Linked DNA regions of Homo sapiens: all the other regions are linked to region 3. Evidence: promoter capture Hi-C in 16 types of primary human blood cells and fetal thymus (Javierre and others, 2016). All regions are on one chromosome and are shown on one strand. Each heading gives the region's core, a stretch centred on a gene start or on the middle of the fragment in contact. The rest is flanking DNA. Distances are from core to core; before and after follow the strand shown.

What was found. Contacts are between HindIII fragments. The CHiCAGO score rates a contact against its expected background, and 5 or more counts as called.
Region 1: a contact is called between a fragment that was not itself captured here and the fragment with the promoter of IQGAP1 in region 3, in 2 of 17 cell types (activated CD4 T cells and total B cells). The highest score is 6.1, in activated CD4 T cells.
Region 2: a contact is called between a fragment that was not itself captured here and the fragment with the promoter of IQGAP1 in region 3, in 2 of 17 cell types (total B cells and monocytes). The highest score is 5.4, in total B cells.
Region 4: a contact is called between a fragment that was not itself captured here and the fragment with the promoter of IQGAP1 in region 3, in 1 of 17 cell types (total B cells). The highest score is 6.3, in total B cells.
Region 5: a fragment that was not itself captured here is called in contact with the fragment with the promoter of IQGAP1 in region 3 in 2 of 17 cell types (total B cells and naive B cells); the score reaches 6.3 in total B cells.

Annotation. Positions count from the first base shown.
Region 1 is chr15:90,622,097-90,628,006 of GRCh38, reverse strand. It overlaps CRTC3 (CREB regulated transcription coactivator 3), which reads right to left. Exons shown (of 15, transcript NM_022769.5): 10 at 2,014-2,231. The region is part of intron 3 of CRTC3-AS1 (CRTC3 antisense RNA 1); the gene reads left to right. Among named protein-coding and RNA genes, the nearest start is that of LINC01585, 35 kb to the left of the region's middle. The HindIII fragment of the contact is 9,195 bases long and covers 1-5,910 here.
Region 2 is chr15:90,582,905-90,588,465 of GRCh38, reverse strand. All of the region lies in intron 2 of CRTC3 (CREB regulated transcription coactivator 3), which reads right to left. Among named protein-coding and RNA genes, the nearest start is that of CRTC3, 56 kb to the right of the region's middle. RefSeq lists enhancers at 4,118-4,629, 4,630-5,141. The HindIII fragment of the contact is 1,876 bases long and covers 2,411-4,286 here.
Region 3 is chr15:90,386,616-90,392,021 of GRCh38, reverse strand. It overlaps IQGAP1 (IQ motif containing GTPase activating protein 1), which reads right to left and starts at 3,780. Exons shown (of 38, transcript NM_003870.4): 1 at 3,626-3,780; 2 at 1,149-1,248. The coding sequence starts at 3,680. RefSeq lists a silencer at 3,277-4,056. The HindIII fragment of the contact is 8,546 bases long and covers 1-5,406 here.
Region 4 is chr15:90,560,792-90,566,422 of GRCh38, reverse strand. The region is part of intron 2 of CRTC3 (CREB regulated transcription coactivator 3); the gene reads right to left. Among named protein-coding and RNA genes, the nearest start is that of CRTC3, 34 kb to the right of the region's middle. RefSeq lists a silencer at 2,641-2,770 and an enhancer at 3,042-3,542. The HindIII fragment of the contact is 3,385 bases long and covers 1,170-4,554 here.
Region 5 is chr15:90,148,739-90,154,410 of GRCh38, reverse strand. No RefSeq gene overlaps it. Among named protein-coding and RNA genes, the nearest start is that of IDH2, 49 kb to the right of the region's middle. RefSeq lists an enhancer at 5,013-5,222. The HindIII fragment of the contact is 5,097 bases long and covers 1-5,076 here.

The DNA of each region.
Region 1 (5,910 bases), core at 1,067-3,566, 240 kb before region 3:
TGACCTCGTGATCCACTCGCCTCGGCCTCCCAAAGTGCCGGGATTACAGGAGTGAGCCACCGCACCCAGCCTAAAATTCTTAAAAATAATTTTGCCGGCTGGGCGTGGCTCACGCCTGTAATCCCGGCACTTTGGGAGGCCGAGGCGGGTGGATCATGAGGTCAGGAGATCAAGACCATCCTGGCTAACAAGGTGAAACCCCGTCTCTACTAAAAAAATTAGCCGGGCGTGGTGGCAGGTGCCTGTAGTCCCAGCTACTGGGGAGGCTGAGGCAGGAGAATGGCGTGAACCTAGGAGGCAGAGCTTGCAGTGAGCCGAGATGGCGCCACTGCACTCCAGCCTGGGCGACACAGCAAGAGTCTGTCTCAAAAAGAAAAAAAAAAAAGAAAATACAGAAACTGACATTGGTTCTGACATGTTCTGGATAAAATAGTGCTTTTTTGAGAAGACAACCAGTGACTAAACATAAGATCTTCAGCTTGAAGCAAAGTGTCAAAGGCTGTACTGGAAAATGCCAGCTTCCCTGAGACCCAAAGGAGCTATGTGCTGATGCTGCTTTACTTCTGGGACCCTAGATATCTTCATACATTGAGGATTCACCCAAAAGGTGAATTGCCCAGACTCTGAATCTGGGCATAAAGGTTTCGAGAGTTTCTCCTGTGAAGCAAATATCAAATTTCTCCTATGAAGCAAATGTATAAATATCAAAACTGAGACTCAGTCGATGAAAAACCTGCTACTATTAAGGATACTAAAATGACCCAAAAAACAAAAATAAAGGTGTTCTCTGAAATCAATTCTTCAAACCTAAGATTGTGTTGCACCAGGCAGCATCACTGCAATCATTAGAAAAACTTCCAGGTGACCCCCCCTGAAGGGGACCACTCTCATTTGGGTGGTGAGTTCTGATTTGCATGGATGAGTCTCAGAGTGAAAGGCAGCAAACACTGCTTTCACCTGGAGACCATCACTGAGCATCCCTTCCAAATGAAATGCTCCACAACACAATTCTGGGTAGGACTGTTACGGCCAGGGGCTGTACTGCACCACTGGGAGTAAGAGGATTATCACCTGCCCTAGACATTGACAAGGGTATGTCAGTGGTGGCTCACGCCTGTAATCCCAGCACTTTGGGAGGCCAAGGCGGGTGGATCACTTGAGGTCAGGAGTTCGAGACCAGCCTGGCCAACATGGTGAAACCCTGTCTCTACTAAAAATACAAAAACGATTAGCTCGGCATCGTGGCACATGCCTGTAATCCCAGCTACCCTGGAGGCTGAGGCAGAAGAATTGCTTGAACCTGGGAAGCAGAGGTTGCAGCGAGCTGAGATCGTGCCACTGCACTCTAGCCTAGGTGACAGAGTAAGACCCCATCTCAAAAAAAAAAAAAAAAAAGTGTCAGGCTTCAAACAAATGTAGTCATAATTTCAATATGGGGTCTGAGCTGTGGACAATCAAACCCAGAGAGTAACACCCAAGTCCCATTATGGGTAGCATCTTTATATAGCTAATGCTACATCTTTAACTGGAACTGTGGGGGATTTCTACTTCACACACAGATATTAAGTATAAATATTTTCATCATATCCACTGTAAATTTTCTAAAATGCAGAATATTGCCTTTAGAAATCTAATGGAAAATGAAAGGAATCCAGAGAGATGGCCTAAATTATAAATTATCATATGTTGATGACAGCCACTAATACTGTTCAGCCAACACGGAGTGGATGCTTATTTCTTGGCTCCCATATCTTATTCCCCAAGTCCCTGGATAGAGCAGCGAGTGAGGATGATAAGGAATGAGGTTCAGCAGAGCTGCCCCAAATTCATCAACCCAGGAGAAACAGAAACATCCAAGAAAAATGTCCGCAGGGTCAGGAGATACAAGAAGGTACATTATCATCTCTAACTGGGATGCAGTCATTCTCATTCAATGATTCACTGAACAGGCCACATGGGTGGGGACCACCTATGATTAAGCCACCAGGTCACTGCTAAGCAGGAGATACTCACCAGAGGAGCTTCTTATACCCAGGTGGGTCATAGCAGCTGGGATGTTGTTCACACTATTCCCCACACTCATACTGCCAAAGTGGTGGTCGGTGGTGTCCAGGGAGGCTGGCAGGGGTGTCGAGTAGTGGAGGTTGGTTAGATCTGGCAATGACCCTCCAGTGTTCAAGGTCCCCAAGAAGGGTGAGAGGCCTAGGTTTTGACCATTATGTGGAAAAGCACTGAAAAAAGAAAGATTAAGAATGACTTTCTACAATGTATTTGGCTGTTGGGAAACCAAACATGGCTGAAACCTTTTCCTTGTCAAATAAGAGCAGTGGCTACAAAAGACCGAGGTCCTGGTGCGGCCTCTCTGATTCTGAGAACACTGGTGCTCGGCTTAACCTCTCCGAAACACATATCCTCACCCACTACCTGTGCCCACATTACAGGAATACTAGATTAGGGTCTAGAATAATCAAGACCAGATTAGATTATGGATGCAAAAGTATTCTGAAAATTATAAACCACTCTATAAAATGTGAGGCACTGCTATTTATGTAGTTCTTTTTGCTAGATTTTTAAGTTATCTTTGCTACCAGAAAAAGTATCTCTGAGTAACTAGCTACCTTCCAATATACCTTCCAAGATATATTTTTAAAATTACAGTCTTCATAAACTTTAAAGTGACAAAGAGATGTTGCCATTCATTCATCACAATCTATGGGCTAGGCACTGTGTGCCAGGCAGCGGGCCGCATGTTGGCGGCACCATGATGAACAAGCAGGGCGAGTGTGTCCGCCGGGGTCAGGCCTACTCCTGAAATGTACAGGCCTGGAGCAAGAGTATAAAAGAAGGCCCGCATACCATCTGTTTCCATTTTTAAAAGTTATAAATCAAATGAACAAACCCTTACATGAACTTTGTTCTATGTGTCTATCCTGACATATTATACCTTCATAATAGCCTGTGAAGCCAGATTTACATGTAGAATTCTCAGACTTCTTGGAGTTCTGTGCCAGAATGCACAGGGAGACAGCCTGGCCCTCAGTCCACGTCCCCTTCTCTTCCCCCTAGTTCTGTTCTGTACTGCAGTACGCACATAGCTATCCCAGCCTATGCAGCCAAACTCTGTCCACACCCTGCTGACTCTCTAGCCACCCCCCAGGCCTAGTGCGTATACACTGGTGGTACGTTCCCTTTGGGAATGAAGCCCTCTCAAGGGCGGGGCCCCAGGGAGGGGCCTGCTAGCCAGGTCTGAGAGGACCTTGTTTTGGAATTCACAGATGGGCAGGAGAGACAGCCTGGGAAAGCAAGTAACTGCAACGTGGCAGGAAGCGCGCTATGCTGGGTTTGAGAAGGGGTGTGTGTAACCAGTGCATATAAGTGACACCGGGAGCAAAAAAGCAGGAGTTGTCCATGTCAGGATGGGCTGTGGAGGGGACGGGTTTGCCATGGATGTGACACAGTGTGTGCGTGGAATTAAGAGTAGCTGGGCATGGCTGAGGTGTCAGGTGTCAGGGCAGAGGGTGAGGAGGGAGGGTGGCACATGGGGAGGGAGAGGCAGGCGGGAGAGAATGTGCTGTTCTCAGGAGTCTGGATCAGGGACTGTGGAAAGAGGGAGGCCAGGTTAAGCTGGAGAATGGCGTTTCAGAAATGTCACTGTGGTTCCAGTGTGGAGGATGGCCTCAGCAGGCAGAAGGAGAGGCAGGGAGAACCAATTAGAAGGACCACCTGCAGTGGTCCAGGGGTGATATAGGAAAAGAGCAGTGAGGGTGACGCGGAGGAGAATGCGGGAGAAGGTGCCACCAGCCAGGAGCAGAGGGAAGTCACGAATCCTGAGGACACTTCATTCCCTCCTGCACACATCAGCAGAGCACCTCCCAGGGGCCAGCCACTGGCATCAGGGCTTCAAGAGACTGAGCCATAAGGAGCATAACCGGCAACATAATACAATTCAGTAGTGCAGTGATAGAGCCTGGAGGGAGGCCATGTGGAGGGAAGCCCAGCTGACCTGGGGAGGCTTCCTTGGAGGACATCTGAGCTTAGTTTAAAGGCTAAAGAACTCAGGTGATCTAGTCAGGAAAAAGATTTCAGGCAAAGCTCACAGCATGCGCAAAAGCAGGGAGGTGTGAGACCACATGGTGTGCCCTCAGAACTGTGAGGATTCAGACCACGGGAGGTTGAGTTTAGGAGGGCTGGTTAGTGGTGGGAGATGGAAGTGGAAAAGCAGGTAGAGAGCACCCGAGGCTGGGACTGATGAGAGGCTGACACGACGCCAGTGGAAGGCTGGACGCGGGGTGGGCAGTGTGGTGGGGGAGAGGTATCAGCTTTTCTTAGGACAGCGTGGCTAACAGACTTGGGGAAGGGGTCTTGGGGTGCACGGAGCAGGCCTGGAGGTGGAGAGGCCGCTATGACTCTGCTGAACGCTCCAGCAGGAGGCCACGAGCGCAGGGAGGGAGAGGCAGGCTAGACTCTAGAGACAGGGAAGTAGGACTCAAGAACAACTCTGGGGCCTTTAGCCTGGGGACTGGTGGAGCCCCTCACTGAGACAGGGGACACTGAAGATGTGAGCAGATTGGGAATGAGGGCAGGGGTATGGATGAGATCACGAATTCTATTTTGGCTTTGAGTTTCTGCTCACTAGGAAGACATGCAGCAGGGATATTTCTCTCTCAGTTACGTACAGGAGGCAACCGACATTCTCAAGGTTCCACTGAACAGCAGAGGTGGCAGCCAGGGCATGGTGGGCTGATGATGGGTAAGCAGGAAGGAACACCTGAGAGTAAATATGCTTTCAGAAAGCATGGCGGAGAATTCTGGAGATGAGGGACAGTTAACTAGCAGAGAAAGGCCTCCACAAATCCAGCGGGAGGAGGGCCAGGGAGTGGTAAAGTGGCCGGCCTGACTAGGAGGGACCTCGGTGTCCCTAGGACCAGAGAAGGGTGGTGACGGGGGAATCAGTGGCAGAAGAGAGCTGAGCACTCACTCCTGCCAGCCTCGCCTCACTTTTCTTGGTAAAAGTAGGACTGGGCGAACTGTGGAGTTTTGGAAAGAAATGAGGCAGCAGGAGAGGTGTCCAACCGGAGGGTGAGGAAGAAGGCTCATTTTGGTTGTAGAAAAACTGAATATAAATTTTGTCTTTTTATTTTATTTTGTGTTTTTTTGAGACAGAGTCTTGCTCTGTCGCCCAGGCTGGAGTGCAGTGGTGCGATCTTGGCTCACTGCAACCTCTGCCTCCCGGGTTCAAACAATTCTCCTGCCTCAGCCTCCCGAGTAGCTGGGATTACAGGCATGTACTACCATACCCAGCAAATTTTTGTATTTTTAGTAGAGACAGGGTTTCGCCATGTTGGCCAGGCTGGTCTTGAACTCCTGACCTCAAGTGATCGGCCTGCCTCAGCCTCCCAAAGTGCTGCGATTACAGGCATGAGCCACTGCGCCCAGCCTGAATTTTGTCTTAGATGGCTGGAAGTATGGAACTGTTTATAGGGTTAAAGATCAAGGACTAGAAAAATAAAATTGAGACCTCAGAGCCCTCAACGTGACAGCAGATGGGCTTTCTGACTGAGAAGAAAGATCCATGGGTGATCAGGTGGGAGTGAAGGCAGAGAGAGCAGGGGCGCGGCAGGGAGAAGCGTCCAACAGCACAGAGCAAGGATGGAAAAAATGTGACCACTGTGAAACAGGTCATTAGTAACGTTCACACAATTCCTCTGCAGCTGGGAGAAATACAGGTGGTTCCTTTCCAAATATAGTTACTACCTAACGGAGTCACCACTGATCTAAGGAAAGTAATGCGCCCCCCGGTTCAAGACCCTCTAACGACTCCCATCTTCTCTGCGTCAGATCCAAGCAATACAAGCCTCCTTGAACTCCAGGCCCACTCCTGCCTTGGGGTCTTTGCACTTGCTGTTCCTG
Region 2 (5,561 bases), core at 2,099-4,598, 200 kb before region 3:
CAGTTGCAGATGGAGAAGATACACAGAGGAGAGACGTAGAAGGTATTCCAGCACCACGGACAAGTAATATGAGTGAAAAATAAATGTTTGTTGAGAGTCTGAGTTTTTGGATTGTTACTAAAGCAAAGCTGGCTAATATGGTAGTGATGACAGAGAGAGACTGAATGAAATAGAGAGTCCCATTTTTCTTACTTTTTTTTTTTTTTGAGACAGAGTCGCACTCTGTCACCCAGGCTGCAGTGCAGTGGCGTGATCTCAGCTCACTGTAACCTCTGCCTCCCAAGTTCGAGCAATTCTCCTGCCTCAGCCTCTTGAGTAGCTAGGATTACAGGCATGTGCTACCATGCCTGGCTAATTTTTTAATTTTTTTATTTTTATGTTTAGTAGAGATGGTTTTGCCATGTTGCCCAGGCTGATCTCGATCTCCTGGCCTCAAGTGATCCACCCCCCTCGGCCTCCCAAAGTGCTGGGATCACAGGCATGAGCCATTGTGCCTGGCCCCATTTTCTTGAAGAACAAGGGAGGTGTAAGTCAAAAGAATCTGCAAATGGGAGCCAGGCATAGTGGCTCAGGCCTGTAATCCCAGCACTTTGGGAGGCTGATGTGGGTGGATCATTTGAGCTCACAAGTTTGAGACCAGCCTTGGCAATATGGCAAAACCCCATCTTTACAAAAAATACAAAAATTTGTCAGGTGTGGTGGTTCACGCTTGTAGTCCCAGCTACTTGGGAGGCTGAGGCAGGAGGATCACTTGAGCCTGGGAGGCAGAGGTTGCAGTGAACTGAGATCCTGCCACTACACTCCAGACTGGGTGACAGAGGGGAGACCTTGTCTCTAGTAAATAAATACAGAAAGCAAGCAAGAAAGAAACGAACCTGTAAATAGGACTCTATGTGTTTTAAGGAGGGCCTTAGGCTCAGGATCTGAAAAGCACTCTACTGTTTCAGAACATGGGACCTAGACATCAAATGAGGAAGAGAAGGCTTCTGTGCCTCCATACAGAAATGGTTCTCCACATCAGTGTCTGGGATCCAGTGCTAGATAGACCGGGGAGGGGAGTGACATGGCTAATGCTAACGGCAGAACTCTTTCTGTAATGAAACAGGACGTGTGAATCTTCCAAAAGAAGCAGAGTTGTGGATTTCCAGGTAGAAGTTTAGAGCTAACGGCAGACAGTACCATACTCCCGGAGTACTTCCCCAAGGGACCTAGAGCTCAGTTAGATGAGATATCAGTTACGTGTAGGTGCACACCTACCTATCACATAGCATCTGAAAGCTGCAGCCTGGGATGAATGGCTGAAAAGTTGCAACTAGATTTCGTCACCTAGGGGGGAAATTACTTCCTCTAATTTAGACACTATTGATCTATCAATGTGACCTACATTTGCATTAACTGTTTGGGTAGATGTACTGTACTGTTGGCATATCATTATGTTTGTGGTTAATTAGAAACCCCAGATCTTACTTGACTGGTAAACCATAAGCAGATTCCTACATAAGCCCACGCTAAGTTAGGAAATGAGCTGAAGTCCAAGAATTGGAGAGTTGTTGTTTATTATCAACTAGGAAGATTATCATTATCAAAAGCATATATGGTACAGTATATTCTTTATGTGTGAACAATCAAGACATACATTTTTCTTCTGCAGCTAAGTAGCAAAATAAATCCTAGCTTATAGTTGTATTTTTATACAGTTATTAAAAACAGGAGAAATGTAATTTCCAAATACCTTGAAGTGAAATATGGGTTTCTAAATGCTAATGGTATGACCAAATACATCCTTCCATGTAAGAAGTTCTACAGGGCCAGGCACGGTGGCTCACACCTATAATCCCAGCACTTTGGGAGGCCAAGGTGGGTGATCATGAGGTCAGGAGTTCAAGACCAGCCATGGCCAACAGAAACCCCGTCTCTACTAAAAACACAAAAATTAGCTGGGCATGGTAGTGAGAGTCCGTAGTCCCAGCTACCGGGAGGCTAAGGCAGAAGAATTGCTCGAACCCAGGGGGCAGAGGTTGCAGTGAGCTGAGATTGTGCCACTGCATTCCAGCCTGGACGACAAAGCGAGACTCCATCTCAAAAAAAAAAAAAAAAAAAAAAGAAGTTCTACCAAGTTTTAAAAAATATATTAAAAACATGCAGAAAACCAGGATTAAGCATATAAATGGTTAATACTTTGAAAAAGTATTGATCCAGAATACCACAACCTCAGCATCTGTACAAAGGGGTGCCTAATCGATATTCTCAAACAGAAGCAATTCTACATAAGACAACTCTTAGTAGCTTCAATGACAGACCTCATGATGACTCGTGATCAAGAAAAAAAGTGATAAAACTCCTGCAAGAGCAACACATATTTTCCTGGAATACCATCGTCAACACTGGGAATGGGTACTTGCATGAAGCTTCAATATTACAGAGGACTGCACCGGAATGTGATGTCACCATTATTTTATGCTATGAGGACAATGTGCTAGCTTGAGCCAGGGGTCATTTATGTGGCAATTTCAACCATCTCAGTGGTGAGCCAGAAAGCAAAGAAAGCCCCTAAATAACAAAAATGGATAAGAACCCCAGAGGACAGCAGTTAGAAAGGAACCCCTCCAGTTCTGCATCACACCCCACCCAGGTCTAACAAACTGAGGCATCTCATTTTCCAGCTTGCAGTAGGTGAAAATAAGGTGGGGATAGGCAAAGGAAGGGAACTGGAGTTGCTGGCTTAGCAGAGAAAGCAACACAAGTAAAAGCAAGAGGGAGTGGAATTCTGCTCTTTCCTTCTACAGATGGGAAACCAAGGTACAGAGAGCTGAAGTGATTTTTCTCAAGATTGCAGAGCTAGTTTGTAGCAGCCTAAAAACTAAAACTCAGGATCCCGAGCCTCATTCAGTATTCTCTTTACCTCACCGCTTTGCCTCCTTTGCTATATAGCCTACATAAAATCAATTCTTTTTGAGATTTTACACAGATTTGTACTGATATATACAGAAGTTAAAAAAAAAAATATTAAGGAATTTTCCAGACTGGGCACCATGGCTCATGCCTGTAATCCCAGTACTTTGGGAGCTCATGGTGGGAGGACTGCTTGAGCCCAGGAGTTCGAGACCAGCCTGGGCAGCATAGCCAGACCTTGTCTCTGCTAAGAATTTAAAAACTAGCTAGCCACAGTGGCACACACCTGTAGTCCCAGCTACTTGGGAGGCTGAGGTGGGAAGATCCCTTGAGCACAGGAGGTGGAGGCTGCAGTGAGCTATGATCATACCACCGCACTCCAGCCTGGGGCACAGAGCGAGACCTTGTTGTTTCAAAAAAGAAAAATGAAAAAGAAATTCTCCAGATAAATTGTATTACATTCTTCTAAATCCACTGAAGATTTAAGATTCAATTACAGGTTAACAGTCTTGCTAAGACACCTGACTATGATGCAATACAAACGGCACACCTACAAATTGACGTTGGCTCCAGTAGTCTCATTTGGAGTAAGTATCTAACTTAATATTTATGTAAACGGTTAGCTAAAAGTCACAAAGCTATTCATTGACGATAATGCTTCCTCTGATAGAATTAAAATGCTACCCCAACCCTTCTTAATTCCTCTGTATACTTGGGTTTGTATCTGTTTCCAACAGAGCTTGGGTAGGAGAGGAGACTGGTTGGAAACGTAGCTGGTAGTAGAGACACTAGATAGGGTAGTGTCTATCTACCCTATCTGCCGTTAATGCTTGGCTCTAACGGCATCCTTAAACTCATCACTTAGCTCTACTGGGCCTCCAGCTTGCCCATGATGCTGCTTGGTTCTTCTTTAGTTTACTTCTTTAGTTCTTGACAAATGTGCGACAGATTGGCCACCAGTACTAAATAAATTTCTGTTGGTGTCCACCCTGGACGACATAATGAGACCACAACTCTTTTTTAAAAATTCTGCTGGGGGCCGGGCACGGTGGCTCATGCCTATAATCCCAGTACTTTGGGAGGCTGAGGCGGGAGGATCACCTGAGGTCAGGAGTTCGAGACCAGCCTGACCAACATGGTGAAACCCCATGTCTACTAAAAATACAAGATTAGCCAAGCATGGTGGTACATGCCTGTAATCCCAGCTACTGGGGAGGCTGAGGCAGGAGAATTGTTTGAATCCAGGAGGTGGAGGGTGTAGGGAGCTGAGATCGTGCCACTGCACTCCAGCCTGGGCAACAGGAAAGAAACTCCATCTCAAAAAAAAAAAAAAAAAGCGTTGGTGAAGAGTGGAAATTTATCAAGTTTAGGAAGTAAGGCAGGTTCCTGAAGCTTGCAGGGCTCTTTATTTATATGCAGACTGAAGCTAATGGAAGATGTTATAGCCCCCCTCTTTTAAAAAGGACAAGTCTAAATAACAAAGGAACAACTGTGCCTCTCTTGGGAACCCAGCTGGAGATCATTCTAGGCACTGCCAGCACCTCCTTTGATTCTCATGACAAGTGGGGGAGTCGTGAAGGCCTGTCCACAACAAAGGGGCTGCTATTAATTCACACTGCCTTGGGGTTAAATGGATCATTTAAGTCTACCTTACAAACTAAGCGGAATAAAAAAGGATGTCATACTTGGTTAAATACCCTATTATAACATCATTCAAAAAAAAAAGAAAAGAGAAACTTCAAGAGAAGTTCAAAATGTATAACAAATCTCCAGCGTCAGACCTGCCAGCACCCAGCCAGCCTCTCTGACAGCAGCCCCCAACACTCTTCCTTTGCCCTCTGCAGTGCTTAGGTATGCCAGCAGGCAGGGGCTTCAGTTCACAAAACTCCTGTGAGGCTCCCAGCTGTTCTGGGTTTTGGAAGGCTTTTCCCCCAGCAGCCTGCCAGCACTACACTATCTTTGGGGCTAGTCTATTCCAGTCTCGCAGAAGTGATTAGACTTTCAGAGCCCTTGAACCACCTAGATGGGTTTTTTGTTTGTTTTTAACCTGGAGGCTATGCCTTTTTTGACCAGCTGATCTGGGGATCCAATCTTCTCCAAAGGACCAAATAAGTCTTGCTGTGAGGCATGAAAAGAAGAGATGAAGAGCAGAACAGACCAGAGAAGGCACCAGCACCCAACCTGCTGATTTAGGACCTGGCCTATCACCATGTCTGTGGCCCTTGTGTTGCCCCTTCCTAGTCTGTATTTTTAAATGAAAGATAAAAGGGAAGTAAAGTTAACAGATAAACTAAGTTAAAAGGTGACTCCAGAAAATGATAGAGATAAAACAGTTTTGGGGTTGTTTTGTTTTTAGCAGGTAAAGTCAAAATCAGACCAATCAAAATGATCACAGAGGGCCAGGCAAAATAATTTCTCAAAATAAGAAATAATGGCTGGGTGTGGTGGTGGCTCACACGTGTAATCCCAGCACTTTGGGAGGCCGAGGTGGGAGGATCGCTTGAGCTCAAGAATAGGAGGCCAGCCTGGGCAACATAATGAGACCCCATCTCTAAAAAAAAAGAAGAAGAAATAACGACAATGCATAAAACACGCCCAGAGTTCATGCTGGGGGATCCTGCTCAAGAAAAGGCAGAGAATAAGGTCTATGTCTCAGGCAGAGCTTCTCA
Region 3 (5,406 bases), core at 2,531-5,030:
TACAATGATGTTTGTTGTACTGTTCTCTGGACTTTCTTGTAGCATTTTAAGATTTTCAGAATTAAAATACACACATACACACACACTTGTTTATTAGCACCACTTCAAACACCCTTTTTATTAAACGTTAATTACAAATATTTCATTATCCCTCACTTGACTTTTCCACCAAAGCTCACTTATAGAATACATGATCTATAATTACATCTACCCTGGGACTCTGCAAAAGAACACAAGCACCAGAACAAAAGAAATGAATCACTGATAACAAAATGACACTCTAAAATTAAGACCACAAGGTTGTGGGGCATCTGAAAAAGGAAAAGAGCAGCTTTACATTCACTTCACAAAGAATGCAGAGGATGCTGACTCTGAATATTGCCAAACAGATGGACCTACACCAACAGCACCACGCTTCTAAGCCTCCCAAACCAAGCAGCCACTCCGCAGGTCATAGGAGGAGGAGACTCAATTCATATATAAATCAAAATTCATGAAGCATAAGTGAAACATTAAAGCCAATAACTTCAAATCCTAAAAATGCTATTTCCACCCCACAGTTGGTAACGCCCAAAACATGCACAATAAGCATAAGACTGAACAATAGAAACCTGGAAAACCGTTCAGTACACTTAAATGCCCATCACAGTGATTCATGATAAACTCTCATCAAGGCTACTTATTGCCATAAATAAATACCCTACCTATACTTATTCCCTCAACCACCAGCTTCCCAGTTACATCTATAACATACTCAAATAAATCTTTTCTTTTTTTTCCCCCCACCAAAAACAGGAGTTTTGTCACCCAGGCTAGAGCACAGTGGTGAGAGCACGGCTCACTGCTGCCTCGACCTCCCGGACTCAAGTGATCCTCCCTCCTCAGGCTCCCGAGTAGCTAGGACTACTGGCATGCACCACCATGCCTGGCTAATTTTTAAAATTTTTTTGTAGAGATGGGGTGTCACTATGTTGCCCAATCTGGTCTCAAACAGCTGGGTTCAAGTGATTCCCCCCCACCTCGGCCTCCCAACGTGTTGGGATTACAGGCATGGACCACTGTGTTCAGCCTCAAAGCAATCTTTATTTGTATTCACACTATTATCAGTTCCCTTCTCTTAATCTTCTCTCCAGCCAGCCAATCTTTACCTCTTCGCTTCTTCCAAATGACAAAGGTACTCATAAGCCACGTTCTGACGTCTCCTTTCATCCATCTCCTCTGCAGTAAGTCTTTCATTATCCAGGACAGCTACAACATAAAAGAAAGAATGTAAACACCAGGATCTGTAGCCTTCCTGAGTGATAAAAGATTGCCACAGAATCAATTTCCTGCCACTCACCTAGAAAGTCAGGATAACTAATGAGTGTGTAGCCAGCCAGGTGTACTACAATGACTTTCTTAAAAAAAGAACTATGTGGTTTCAACTATAATCATCTTGACCTTTTTAAAAATGTATGATAATATAAATATGTACTAAGTTTCAGTGTAATCTTGAAAAATACTGTCTTGAGATTTTGGCACAAATCTGTCCCTATCTGCCAGAACTCCTTCTAAATACAGATCTGATAATATTGTTTCCCTCTTTTATTAATGACCAAAGCCAGCAGTTATTGAGACATAAGTGGCAGTAATTGTACGAAGCATTTTACACGCATTCTCTCATTGAAACCCCACAACAATCCTGTGATTATCACTCCTATTTTACAGACGAAGAAACTGAGGCTGGGTGAACTCAGCCCCATGGCAAATAAGTGACAGGGCCTGAATCCAAACCTGGAGAGTCTGTCTCCAAAGCCTGAGCTTAACCTTGAAGCAATCTGCTTCCTTCATGGGCACCAGGTGTGGAATAAATTCCTAACTCCTTGGGAAGGCATTCAAGGCCTTTCCCAGTCTGGTCCCAACTATTTTTGGAAACTCTCCTCTTCCCTTCCTCCCACCACTGTGCAGTCTACATCACTCAGTTCCCAACACAGTATCCCTCTACTTTCAATACCTTTGTTTATGCTCTTCCCTCAGGTCCTGTCTCTTGTTCCACATGCCCTATCAAACTTTTTTTTTTTTTTTTTTGAGACAGGGTCTTGTTCTGTCACTCCGGCTCGAGTGCAGTGGCACAATCATGGCTTACTGCAGCCTCGACTTTCTGGGCTCAAATGATCCTCCTACCTCAGCCCCAAGCAGCTGGGACCACAGGCATGGGCCACCACGCCTGGCTAATTTTTTTTTTTTTTTTTAAGAGATGGAGTCTCACTGTGCTGCCCAGGCTGGTCTCAAACTCAAGGCCTCAAACTATCCTCTCACCTCGGACTCCCAAAGTGCTGGGATTACACGCAGGAGTCACTATGCCTGGCCACCTGTCAAACTTTCTACACAGCATTCTTCAAGGCTCTGTTCAAATGTCACCTTCAGGCCAGGTGCAGTGGCTCACACTTTGGGAGGTCGAGGCGTGGGGATCATTTGAGATCAGGAGTTTGAGACCAGCCTGACCAACACAGTGAAACCCTGTCTCTACTAAAAATACAAAAATTAGCCAGTGTGGTGGCCGACGCCTGTACTCGGGAGACTGCAGGAGAATCGCTTGAACCTGGGAGGTGGAGTTTGCAGTGAGCTGAGATTGCACCACTGAACTCCAGGCTGGGCGACCAGAGCAAGACCCCCTGTCTCCAAAAAAAAAAAAAAAAAAGTCACCTCCCGTGCTCATACTGTCTTCCCCAGGCCCCTTCTCCTTACCTACATTACTCTGTATGGCTAGTAAGTTCAGCATCTTTTATCATTATTGCACCTTATAATCATTAGCTTGCACACCTGACTCTCTGATTAAAACGCTCTTTGGAGACAGGGCCTGATCTTACTCATCTTTAATTTCACAAACGTGGCACAATACCTCACGTATAACTGTTGATGCGTGAAATGTTGATCCTTTAAAAAAGAACATTATTCCCACAATATAAAATAAAACCGAAAACCTCAAAATCCCAAAGGGTCCTCCTTTAGCCAATCCTGCCTGCAGTTCAATGACGTCCAGGGCCGACAACAGAAAATGAGGAAGTCAGAGGATTTTCTGCTTCTTTTTTTTTTCTTTATTACTATTTTACTTTTGAAATCTTGAGGAGGGAACTAAGCCCGAGAAAACTGAAGTGACTTGCCCAGGACGGCACCTCGTAGCTAGCCTGGGACCGGACAGGTCTGGACCCTGGTCTATCCCTTGGGTCTACCCCGCAGGCAACACTAGGGCAGCGCCTTTCCACGAAACGGGCAGAGCCCGCGTACCCAGACCCCCAATCCCCGGGACACGCCCTGCGCGGTCATCCTGCCACCTCACTCTAGGCCGTCTTCCCCAATCTCGGCCGAGCCTGGGCGGCGAGAGGCGCTGGGTGGGGCTCCCCCTACCGCGGCCCCAGCTAAGGCGGGAGGCCTCGGGGGTCCTCTCCGCCGCCTCGGACCCCGAGGGGGCGCGAACCAGGGGCCTCCCCGCCCGCCGCCCGCCGCCCCACCGGGACGGCTCTTCCGGGTCCGAGCTGCCGGCAGCCGCCCTGCCCCACCCGCCCGGCCGAGCCCCCAGGAAAATCGCGCCTCGTCTGCAATTAGCCCAGCCCGAAGCCCCCGCGCCGCGGAGCCCCGCACTCACAGCCATAGTGCGGCCGGGCCACGCCCAGCCCGTCAACCTCGTCTGCGGCGGACATGGCGGACGAGCCCGAGTCTCTGCTGAGGAAGCCGTGAAACCTTGGAGGCGCGGACGGCGGTAGCTACAGCTCCTGCCAAGTGCGCGGGCTTGCCGGGGTCCCCGAGGCCCCGCCCCGTGCCGTCAGCCCCACCCCGCAGGCCCCGCCCCAGCGGCACCGCCCCAGCGACACCGCCCTGAGCGGCCGGAAAGAGGCGGGGCCAGAGTCACCGTGCCCCGCCCCTAACTCCGCCCCCTCAGCCCGGCCCCGCCCTGCATCCCGCTATGGTCTCCGTAGGCGGAAGGAAGAAGGTAGAGCCCATCCTCCAATCGGGCTCACGCTGAGCTTGCCCTGCCGGGAATGCCCGCCCAGGTTTATAGCCCCGCCCCCAAGGCCACTGCCCTATCCGCAACTCTAACCGAAAGGCTGCCGGTGTCTGCTGCCTGAAATCAAAATAGTGGGTCATCTCCCTTCTCTTGCCGGCCCAGCTAACCTCTGCACCAATATTTGGAGAAGACACCCTTTGAGGTGACCCAGGTTGTCTTGTTGGACACAAGCAGGCCCCAAACTGCCATGAAAGCCCTCCAACCCCACTCTCCGCAGTTTGGCAACCTGGCCTCAGTCCTCTTAGATTCGGCAGCAGTCACCAGATTACCCAGGTACCCAGGTATTTGAGATGCGGATGCTAAAGCCGAACTCTGTCCAAATTCCCTACCTTTGGATCCCTTGACATTGTTCTTTGCAAGTTCTTTTTAAAATAACTCTTTTCCCGTATCAGGGATGCCTCTGCCCCCTGCACCTTGTGGCTTGCCCTTCAGATATTGGTATTCAACGGTATTCTGTCCGCAGCCCTCTTCTGTTTATTCTTTTTTCTTTTCTTTCTTTCTTTTTTTTTATTTTCTTTTTTTTTTGAGACGGAGTCTCGCTCTGTCGCCCAGGCTGGAGTGCAGTGGCGCGATCCGGGCTCACTGCAAGCTCCGCCTCCCGGGTTCGCGCCATTCTCCTGCCTCAGCCTCCCGAGTAGCTGAGTCTACAGGCACCCGCCACCGCGCCCGGCTAAGTTTTTGTATTTTTAGTAGAGACGGGGTTTCACCGTGTTAGCCAGGATGGTCTCGATCTCCTGACCTCGTGATCCACCCGCCTCGGCCTCCCACAGTGCTGGGATTACAGGCGTGAGCCACCGCGCCCGGCATTTTTTTTTTTTTTTTTTTTTTGAGACGGAGTTTTGCTCAGTCGTTCAGGCTGGAGTGCAGTGGCGCGATCTCGGCTCACTGCAACCTCCGCCTCCCGGGTTCAAGCGACTCTCCCGCCTCAGCCTCCCAAGTAGCTGGGATTATAGGTGCCCGCCACCACGCCCAACTACTTTTTTTGTATTTTTAGTAGAGGCAGGGTTTCACCATGTTGATCAGGCTGGTCTCGAACTCCTGACCTCAGGTAATCCACCCGCTTCTGCTTCCCAAAGTGCTGAGATTACAGGTGTGAGCCACCGCGCCCGGCCCTCTTCCGTTTATTCTTTGCCTACTCAGTAATCTTTTCTACACTCGCCTATAACTGCTGAGGACCCCTCGATATGTATCACCAGACCAGATCGTCTGGAAGTCCCTCAGTATTTTCAGCTAATGAACACTTTCACCTGTGTATAGGGCAGACACTTCAAATCCCACGTGTCAAATACTGACCCTGCTCCTGCTATATTCTCTATTCACAGAAGTACTCAATTCCCAGTGGGAACACCCCAGGCTCCTTG
Region 4 (5,631 bases), core at 1,613-4,112, 180 kb before region 3:
ACACGCCACCATGCCCGGCTAATTTTTGTATTTTTAGTAGAGACGGGGTTTCACAATATTGGCCAGGATGGTCTCAAACTCCTGACCTCAAGCGATCCACCCACCTCAGCCTCCCAAAATGCTGGGATTACAGGCATGAGAAACTGCGCCTGGGTGAGATGGCTTCTTTCCTTAAACCTCATGAACCAACCTCTGCTAGCTTCAAACTTTTCTTTTGTAGCTTCCTCAGCTCTCTCAGTCTTCATAGAACAGAAGAGAGTTAGGCTTTGCTCTAGATTAGCCTTTGGCTTAAGGGAATGTGGTGGCTAGTTTGATCTATCCAGACCACTTAAACTTTCTCCTTATGAGCAAATAAGGCTGTTTCACTTTCTTATCATTTGTGTGTTCATCAGAATAGCACTTAATTTCCTTCAAGAATTTGTCCTACCTTGGCTTTCAACATGCTTTCCTCACTAACCTCAATCATTTGCAGCTTTTTATTTAAAGTGAAAGACATGCAACTCTTTCTTTCACTTGAACACTTAGAGGCCTAATTTCAATATTGTTATCTCAGGGAAGAGGGAGGCCCAAGGAGGGGGAGAGACACAGGAATGGCTGATCAATGGAGCAGTCAGAAGACACACAACATTTCTCTTGATTAAGTTCACCAACTTATGTGGGTGATGTTCACGGGACCCCAAAACAATTACAACAGTAATACCAAAGATCACCGATTACAGATCACCATAACAGATATAATAATGAAAAAGTTTGAAATGTTGCAAGATTTACTGAAATGCAACAGAGACATGAAGTGAGCCACATGCCATTGAAAAATGGCACCAATAGACTTGCTCCATGCAGGTTTGCCACAAACCTTCAACTTGTAAAAAGCACAGTATCTGTAAAGCAGAAAAAGCAAACCACAATAAAACAAGGTGTGCCTGTATACAAGAGCACATTGCATTACCCACTCACCAACACTGAATATCACTCAAAAATTTGTCCTAATTTAATGGGTAAAAAGGCTAAGTTATGACTTTGATAATTAGCCTTTATTGGCATTTATATGCTCTAGGTACAGTGTTAGATGCTTCGTATACATTATCTCGTTTAATCCTCACGACACTGTGAAGTGCTACTATTATTATCCCCACCTTACAGATTAAGAAACCGAGACTTAGAAAGCTTACATTGGCCAGGCACGGTGGCTCACACCTGTAATCCCAGTACTTTGGGAGGCTGAGGTGGGTGGATCACATGAGGTCGGGAGTTCAAGACCAGCCTGACCAACATGGAGAAACCCCGTCTCTACTAAAAACTAAAAATACAAAATTAGCCAGCGTGGTCACGCATGTCTGTAATCCCACCTACTCGGGAGGCTGTGGCAGGAGAATCGCTTGAACCCGGGAGGCAGAGGTTGCGGTGAGCCAAGATCGCATCATTGCACTCCAGCCTGGGCAAAAAGAGCGAAACTCCATGAAAGGAAGGAAGGAAGGAAGGAAGGAAGGAAGGAAGGAAGGAAGGAAGGAAGGAAGGTTGGTTAAATTGTTGAACACAAGGCTTGTAATGGGTAGAGACAGGCTTTGAACCCAAGCTGCCTTACTCTTGAGTCCATACTCTATCCATTCCTGCCTATGGTATCTTATTGTTTTAATCTATGTGTCATTGCTTACAGTGACAACAAATACACTCCCAGATGTTTCTTTGCTGGTTAGGTTTCCTATTTTCCTGATTTTTCTAACCATGGCAAATTCGAAGGGTCAGAGGTAGCTTAGAAGGTGGAGTTTTAGAGATAATGGTTTGACCATGGGCAAGACAGAACTGGTAGTAAAAGCAGATGAGAAGCAAGAAAAGAACATCAGTAGTAACTGCAGGGACTAGTCTCGGGGCCTTTGTAGCCTTTACTGGATGGCGGGGATGATAAGTTCCACAAGCTAAAAAGGCCAGACGTAGGGCAGAGAAAATAATAGAGGAGGGTCTAGCTTCTGGTCCTCTGAACAGCTTCAGTAGTTCCTAAGAACTATTTGCACACTTTTTTCTTGTGTGTGAAGGCAAAGGAGCAGCTACTACCAACCCTAATGATGTCATAGGGTTAACAAATAAAGAAATCAGGAAATGGTTTCTTTTTTCTTCAAGAAATACTCTGGTTGAATTTCCTCAACAGGTTTCAACTTCTGCATTCAGAGAAAATAGTTCTGTTTTAGTAATTCAACAAAAGAACAAAACACTGCCAGACGGAGAGCTGGTAGTTACTAGCATGAACTCCAGAATCAAAGAGCCTGGACTTCAAATCTGGCTTTACCATTTTTGGCTGTGTGATGCAGGGAAATTGTTTAATCCTTCTTGGCCTCCACAGTCTTCCCTGTAAATAGAGACAGTAATAGTACCTACTCTGGGGTTACTAGAAAGAGTAAATGATGTATGCAAAGCCTTAGTTAGCCATATTGCCTGATGCACAGCAAAAGTTCAGTACATTTTTGCCAGCAGTGGTCATGATAGAAGTGGTAGAAACACTAATATAAATGGCAGTAATTTTGTTTGAAAAAAAGGAAGGAAGGCGGGAAGAAAGAAGGAAAGAAGGAAATTATTTTTTCTATTTCATTCAAAAACAAAGGGCAAATATGTTGATCAAATGGTATGAAGTGGCTGAAAACCTTCAGACTAAGTAAGCAGAACTTGATTCCTGTACCAGCCACTTACTAGCTGAGTAATGTTGAGCTTATTACCTATTTTTTCTTGCTCTCGGTTGGCTAACCTTAAAGGGGGAGTGTTGCATGAAAAGTGCTGCACAGTCCATTGTGGTTCTAACAGTTCTGATGCCTCTGCCAGGGCAAGTAGTGCAATACAGAAAGATGTCTGTGCCAAGTGAGAGCCATCCGCTCTTAGCAGAAGCTCGGTCAAGGCTATGCTTTGCTCCTCATTAAATGTTTCCCCTTTAATATTCTTCTCTCTGCTTCACTTGAGTTATATTTTAACTCAAGTTTATAAGCTGTTTTAAAACTTTTATTTTTATTTTATTTATTTATTTATTTTTTGATACAGAGTCTCACTCTGTTGCCCAGGCTAGAGTGCAGTGGAGTGATCTCTACTCACTGCAACTTCCGCCTCCTCGGTTCAAGTGACTCTCCTGCCTCAGCCTCCCGAGTAGCTGGGATTACCGGCATTGACCACTCCATCTGGCTAATTTTTGTATTTTTAGTAGAGACAGGGTTTCTCAATGTTTGCCAGGCTGGTCTCAAACTTCTGACCTCAAGTGATCCACCCGCCTCAGTCCCCCAAAGTGCTGGGATCACAAGCATGAGCCATCATGCCCAGCCCGTTTAACTTTTAAATGCTAGTTCTAAATTAATTAATTCTAAATGAACCCCCAAAACTTCTCGGAGACTAAGCAGGCACGGACTGGTAGAAAGCGTCTCTTGAGCAATTTCATGAATGACAAGATGGCAGAGTAAGAGATACTGAGAGAGACAAGCACAGGCATGGCCAGTGCCCAGCAGCCACTGCAAGGGGGAGTCACAGCCTGTGTGGCCTGGTCTGCTCCTGTTGGCCCACCCCATTCTCACTGGCTTTCTGACCTTTTGGCTCCTGCTTGCGGCTGGTCTGGCTTGCCCCCTCCAGTGTCAACTGACCCCCCTCTTCCATCCAGGCTGTTGCCTCCCAACTCTGGCCTTTCTTAACCAAGTTCCAGGGTGAGACTCTCAGTTCAGGCGAGTTAAGACTCACCCAAGGAGAGACTTCCTAGGTAGTCAAGGGAAGGAAAGTTTGATTTGGACTAAAAGTAGTAAAAAGATTTCTCAGGTGGCCGGGGGAGTGAATAAGCAGAATATATTCTAAGACGAGAAACCAAACAAAAGTGGTACTAAACTGGGCATACGATGGTTCCAGGGGACTAGAAAACGGCATCTATCCAGACTGAGAAAAACAAAGCATAAAACACGTTTCCTAGGTAAAAACAAATTGGTTTTGTGTGTCTACACTTGCTTAATTTGCAAAATAAGAGCAAAGGCCCGAGAAAGATAAACCTGGGTTTGAGTCCTGACTGTCACTTGCCACTTGTGTGACCTTGGGCATGTTACTGTTTAAGCATCAGTAAAATGGGGATGATAATGCCTATCTCAGAAGGTTGATGTGGGAACTCAATGATATCAGGTACACAAAGCATAGCTCAGGTACTCAGTAACTGTTCGTGTTCTTCTCCTCACCACTCTTAAACTTCTGTCATATGTCTGTGGGGAAGTGTTTTCCCTTGCACTCAAGAAAACTAGCATAAAAGAAAGTGGTTACCCTGGTGACTTCCTCCAAAGAGGTTACAGGAGAAAATGGGGAGGGGAGAGCTTTCTCAAGTCACATCCCCAAGAGGCTGGCGGTAGAGACAGAAAAGAGCTAAGACATTAGCTATCTGTTGTCGAGGCAGCCAACTGCTTATAGCCAGGGAGTTCCTTGAGGCACTGACTATTGCCTTTGAGCAGGGAAATAATTACAATGTCTGGCATCAAGGCCTGTGTAGAATCTTCCACAGATGTTATTCTGTCTCTTGGAAAATATCCACAGTAATAATAAACAACTAAAGCTTCATTTTAAGTTTAAAGTATAAAAACTAGCTGTTTCATAACATAGGGACCAATTCTAACTCCTGACTATTGTGAAATTTTGTAGGGAATTGGAACAAAACTTTGGCTGGTTCTACAGCCAAAACATGTAGGGACTTAAAATTCTAGTTAGAGATAATCACTACTTTAAATGTAGTGCCTCTTCTCCCTCTTTTGTGAGCTGGCAGTCAGAGGCTGGATTAAGGAGATAGGTAAGAGGATTGCTTCATACTAATATGATTGAATTTAACACAGATTCAAAATGCGAGGGAATATAGAGACCTAGCTTCTTTCCTGGTCCTACACTGCCACCGCCCACATGTGCCTTCTCTGTGGGTATTCTTTCTGCCTCTCTTGAAAGCTGCACTGAGTCAAGGCACTAACATACAGCCTGGTTGACTTCAGGACAGGCCGATTAAGACTTCAGCAAAAGTATTTTTATCTAGTCTGTGAAGAATTAGTAGGATGCAACTAGCCTGTATGACATTTAAGAAGCTTCATATAATGAACAGCAAAAGCTTAGTTCTCTAGGCCTAGGTAGGATACCTGCAAAGAAAGAGGCAAATGGTACCAACAATCTATTGAAGTCAAATTAGAAGGCTGCAACAGGGAGTTTATACTAGGAACTTTGCAATATGTATTGAACAACAACTGTGCTGGGCATTATTCTAAGGATTTACATGCATTACCTAACTTAATCCTCCCAATAGCTCTATCTTAGGTACTATTAGTAGCCACATCTTGCAGATGAGTGAGCTGAGACACAGAGAGACTAACGATCTTGTCTACGATCCAGTGCTAGTTAGTGGTGGAAGTGGTCACCAGATCCCCACTCTAGGGACTGCACTTGTGACCATCAACATGAAAATTTTGTTTATTTTGACATATTGGATGGCAGGTCATAGAGACTTATGACAGAGACTTACTAAATTGCTTGATCAAGAAAAGGGCTTGTATGGTATTAAATTTTGTTGACCAATTTTGTTGAACCCCCCAAGCGGCTTACAAGACAGTTCTTATGTGAGACATCTCCACAAACTAAACCTGAACCTGCAGGGTG
Region 5 (5,672 bases), core at 1,279-3,778, 240 kb after region 3:
TATAGAGGGCATGGATTATGAAGCGCAATACCTGAAGCAGTGTAGCTTGAGGGCAGATGGCACTATTTTTAACCACCTCTCAGGCCAGGAAGGTCATTAGTGAGGAATGTTGCATGGGGGAGATTGAGGGATTCCGTTGGGCCTGTCCAGTCGTTACTTGTAATTTTTCAAAACACAAACAGAAGGCCAGTTGATTCATTTACAGTGGAAAATGCAATTGGCACACAATTTGGAAATATTCAAAGGACGTACAAAGCTGTTCAGTGAATAAGAAACTCAACTAAAGACAATCAGATGGACCAAATAGCTAAAGACATCAGGTCAAGAAAGCCCAAGGCAGCCATGTTACCATGCCGAGTTCCAACTCCTTAGCATCATTCATCCTTACATCTGGATTTCATCAGGACTTTTAAACACTCAGGATGCAGCCCCCTCCCATGGCCACGAGGACTGAATATAGCCCTGGGCAGTTGCCCACCCACTGCCTCCGGAATGGCTCATCACCAATTCTCTGGGAGAGATTCTGCTGTCAGCGATGATCTCAGCTTTTGGACTTGTACCTGTTTGGATTTGGCTAGTCACTGGATGACCCATTTAGATTCTGTAATCTGGCTTCTGAACAGAACAACTAGGGCCAGGTAGGGTAGTTCACACCTGTAATCCCAGCGCTCTGGGGGGCCAAGGCAGGAGGATCACTTGAGATCAGGAGATTGAGGCCTAGGCAACATGGCGAGACCCTGTCTCTACAAAACAAAAACAAAAACAAAAACAAAAACAAAAACAAACTAACCAGGCATAATGGTACATGCCTGTAATCCCTGTGGATTAGCAGGCCAAGGTGGGAGAATTATTTGAGCCCAGGCATTCAAGACCAGCCTGGGCACACAGTGAGACTCCATCTCTAAAAAAAATTTAAAAATTAGTCAGGTGTGGCCAGGCATGGTGGCTCACGCCTATAATCCCAGCACTTTGGGAGGCTGAGGCAGGCGGATCACGAGATCAGGAGATCAAGACCATCCTGGCTAACATGGTGAAACCCCGTCTCTACTAAAAATACAAAAAAATTAGCTGGGCGTGGTGGCGGGTGCCTGTAGTCCCAGCTACTTGAGAGGCTGAGGTAGGAGAGTGGTGTGAACCTGGGAGGCGGAGGTTGCAGTGAGCCGAGACTGCGCCACTGCACTCCAGCCTGGGGGACAGAGCGAGACTCCCTCTCAAAAAAAAAAAAAAATTAGTCAGGTGTGATGGTGCCTGTAGTCCCAGCTACTCAGGAGGGTGAAGTGGGAGGATCCCTTGAACCCAGAGGCTGAGGCTGAAGTGATCAGTTACCATGCCACTGCACTCCAACCTGGGCAACAAGGCGAACAGAGCCTTTTGACATGGACTTAGAGACCTGCCTCACCTTGGCATCAGTCCACTGATTTGGGGGCTGTCATTTGACCTGACCGTTCTAGTGTCTACTCCATATTTCTCCATCTTGGCTGCAAACAATAATAAGTCTGTTAGGAGACCTGCTGAATCTAGGATCTCTGTGCCTCACATCACGAGCTGAGGTTGGTCTGGGGCTGCAGTTGATGACCCATTCCAGCTCCCATGAATTGTCACATCCTTTTCTACGGGGTCCTGAGTCACCCTTTAATCTTGCTTAGCCCTCTGCCCCAATGTTTGAAGTTTCTGTTGCCTTCCTTTCAGGAAAGGGAATGGCGTTTTGACCCTCTCCAATCTTTCAGCGCATCTTCCATTGTCGTTTTTCAAAGACCAGTGGCAGGGACTCAGCATCCCGTTTCTCAGTAGCCTGGGATAGAACTAGTCTGGGCCAAAGGACCTAAACTTTTTTTGAGTAGCCAGGCACTTGTTTACAAACTCTTCGGCCTATCTTGGACCAGCTAAGAGCTACCTCCCTCCCTGGCAAAGCTCATGCACACAGTTCCCTCCCAGGTCTGAAAGGCAGAGACTGCCCCGCCCCCACCACACTGGCCACAGGTCCCACCTTCCATTTCAGCCTCTGCCAGAAATCCCCCTGCCCCATCCGCTGTCTGTCCCCTGCAGCTACTAGCAGCAGGCCTGCCCTTTCTGAACAGAACCAAAAGTTCCTTTCAATTGTCTTCTCTGGCAGCATTCTATTACAGTTGTTTATTTCCTCCATTACAAAAAGTAGCACAAGCTCATGAAAGAAAATGTAGAAAATCCAGCTAGGTAGCAAGACAAAGGAAGGAAAAACAACTTCCTGCCCCATTACCTAAGATCAAGCACGGTTAACATTTCAGTACCAGTACCGTAGGGAGGCTATCCTAACAGGCTCCTGTGTCTTTTTTTTTTGTTTTGTTTTTTTTGAGACAGAGTCTTGCTCTTGCCGCCCAGGTTGGAGTGCAATGGCACAATCTCGGCTCACTGCAACCTCCGCCTCCTGGGTTCAAGCGCTTCTCCTGCCTCAGCCTCTGGAGTAGCTGGGATTACAGGTGTCCACCACCACGCCCGGCTAATTTTTGTATTTTTAGTAGAGATGGGGTTTTGCCATTTTGGCCAGGTTGGTCTCAAACTCCTGACCTTGTGATCCACCCCCCTCAGCCTCCCAAAGTGCTGGGATTACAGACATGAGCCACCGTGCCTGGCCAGGTCTCCTGTATCTTTACATGCCTTCTTTTAAAATTTCCTTTTAGGCCGGGCGCGGTGAGACTCTGTCTCAAAAAAAAAAAAAAAAAAATTCTTTTAAATCTGAGCTCTAATTATGAACATTTTGTATACCCTTTGACAAAACAATTCCACTTCTGCAGAATCCCTGTGACTGTGCCCAAAGATTTGATCCACCAGCAACCCCGGCACAAGGGGCCTGTTCTCCAGAGCACCAGCAGGAACAGGTGTAGCTGGAGGGCAAGGATGTTACTGGAAGCAGTTTGGACAAACCCAAAAAAGGTCCCTCACTATCACAGCAGTGTTCTTTGGGGAAGAAGGTAGAAATGAGGAATGAAGGGTATATTTTCACTTTTACTTTATACACTTAAAAAAAAAAAAAAAAACAGGGCCAGGTGCGGTGGCTCATGCTTGTAATCCCAGCACATTGGGAGGCCGAGGTGTGAGGCTTGCTTGAGCTCAGGAGCTCAAGACCAGCCTGGGAAACATAGTGAGACTCTGTCTCTACAAAAAAATTTTAAAAATTAGCTAGGCATGGTGCATGGTGGTGCACACCTGTAGTCCAGGTACTTGGAGGCTGAGGCCAAAGAATTGTCTGAGCCCAGGAGCTTAAGGCTTCCATGAGCTGTGACTGTGCCACTGCACTCCAGTCTGGGTGGCAGAGTAGGTCTTGTCTCAAAACAAAAATAATCAAAATAAATAAATATAAATAAAAACAAAAAAACAAGATTTTTGCAGAGATTCTTGTCTTAGTTTTTCCATTTCTGATGTTCCCATATTTTCTACAGGGAGCATATGTTGCTTTTGTAATCACAGAAGTGTAAGATAGTGGTATGGACTGAATTATGTTCACCAAGAAGTTCTAGCTTCATATGTATTTGTAGGTAAAGTCTTTAAAGAGGTAATTAAGTTAAAATGAGGTCCTTAGGGTGGGCCCTAATCCAGTAGGATGGCTGTCCTTATAAGAAGAGAAGATTAGGCAGGGCCAGGCACGGTGGCTCATGCCTGTAATCCCAGGACTTTGGGAGGCTGAGGCGGGCGGATCACTTGAGATCAGGAGTTGAGACCAGACTGACCACCTGGTGAAACCCCGTCTCTATTAAAAATTCAAAATTAGCCGGGTGTAGTGGTGCATGCCTGTAATCCCAGCTACTTGGGAGACTAAGGGAGGAGAATCGCTTGAACCCGGGAGGCAGAGGTTGCAGTGCGCCGAGATCACGCCATTACACTCCAGCCTGGGCAACAAGAGCAAAACTCTGCCTCAAAAAAATAAAAGGGAAGAGAAGATTAGGACACAGACATGCAAGAGGGAAAAATGTGAGGACACAAGGAGAAAATGGCCATCTGCAAGCCAAAGAGAGACACCTCAGAATAAATCAGCTCTGCAGACACCTTGATTGTGAACTTCTGGACTCTAGAATTGTAAGAAGCTAAATGTCTACGGTTTAAGCCACCCAGTCTGTGGAACTTTTGTTATGGCAGCCTACCAAATTTGTTTGCAAATTACATTGCAAACAAATGCAATGGTCAGGAGTTTGGGACCAGCCTGGCCAACATGGTGAAACGCCCGCCTCGGCCTCCCAAAGTGCTGGGATTATAGGCACGAGCCACCGCGCCCGGCTGTCGGTCACTTTTTGGTGCGTGGCTAGAATTTGAGCTTCAGTCTGTGAGTCAGGGACCAAGCAGAGGATCCCACAAAGCAAAGAGTGAGGTGTCTCTCCTGCAAGCTGCCACCACCGCAGTCACACCAACAGGCTCAGAAAGCCCTGAGAGCAGTTCTCAGTGAGGAGTGGTGCCCAATAGAAAGCCTATATCCCCTGTTGGTGACAGTGGGGAAGAGAAAGGCCGGAGTCAGGGAAGTGGTGGCTCTTGGCCAGAAGAATATTCCAAAGAGCAGACGGCAGAACGTTCCATTTGGTGGCCCCTTGGGGCCCACCATATACCCAGGTGTTCTGACCCTGTTGTGGGTTCCAGACCCCTTTGGAAATCCAATGAGAATAAGGAACCACCCCCTAGAAAGACACAAACACACACACACACACACACACACACACATAGATTTGGACACTAATTCAGGGAGTTTGTGTCCTCCTTGAGCCAACATTCAGGTTCTCTAATTTCAAACCTCTGCTCTACTGAGAACCATAAAAAAGCAGTTTATGGAACTGTTCGACCTGGCTCCTGCCAGTGCAAAAACTGTTCACTGAGCAGAAGACGAGATGGGACTGAAAGGTAAACAGTCAGATGTAAACAAAGAGAAAGCCAGGAACCTTTACACAAACATTCCCGCAAAGCAGGAGGCTGCAGGCTCCATGTGGCTCTGAACACAGCTTTTCTGATAGCAGAGACTGAATTGGGCACAGAACATCTGCTTTGCGTAATGTGCTCTTTGCAGAGGCAGGCAACAGAACCTGTGGCCCCAGAAATGTTTCCCCTTGAGCTGAAGCTTATCAGAGAACAGAAAGATAGGTGGAACCACGTTCCAGTGTAGATGAAACTGACCAATATGATAAGAAAATGAAACTGTGAACATGTATGAGTAAGCCCCAGGGTTTTGTGTGGCCATCTTCAGGGACTCTTGTAGGCAGTGACGACATGGTAGGCTTGGGAAGCTCTCTGGGCTCACTCCTACATTCTCTGAACACTAGACTGTAAGTAGTAGAGAAGTAAGGGCTCTTGCCTATATATTGGATTATTGTTTTCTTTCTTTCTTTCTTCCCTCCTTCCTTCCTTCCTTCCTCTCTCTCTCTTTCTTTCTTTCTTTCTTTTTGAGATAGAGTCTTGCTCTGTCACCCAGGCTGGAGTGCAGTGGCGCAATCTTGGCTTGCTGCAACCTCCGCCTCCAGGGTTCAAGCAGATTCTCCTGCTTCAGCCTCCCAAGTAGCTGAGACTACAGGCACGCACCACCACACCTGGCTAATTTTTGTATTTTTAGTAGAGATGGGGTTTCACCATGTTGGCCAGGCTGGTCTTGAACTCCTGACCTCAAGTGGTCTGCCTGCCTCGGCCTCCCAAAGTGCCGGGATTACAGGTGTGAGCCACTG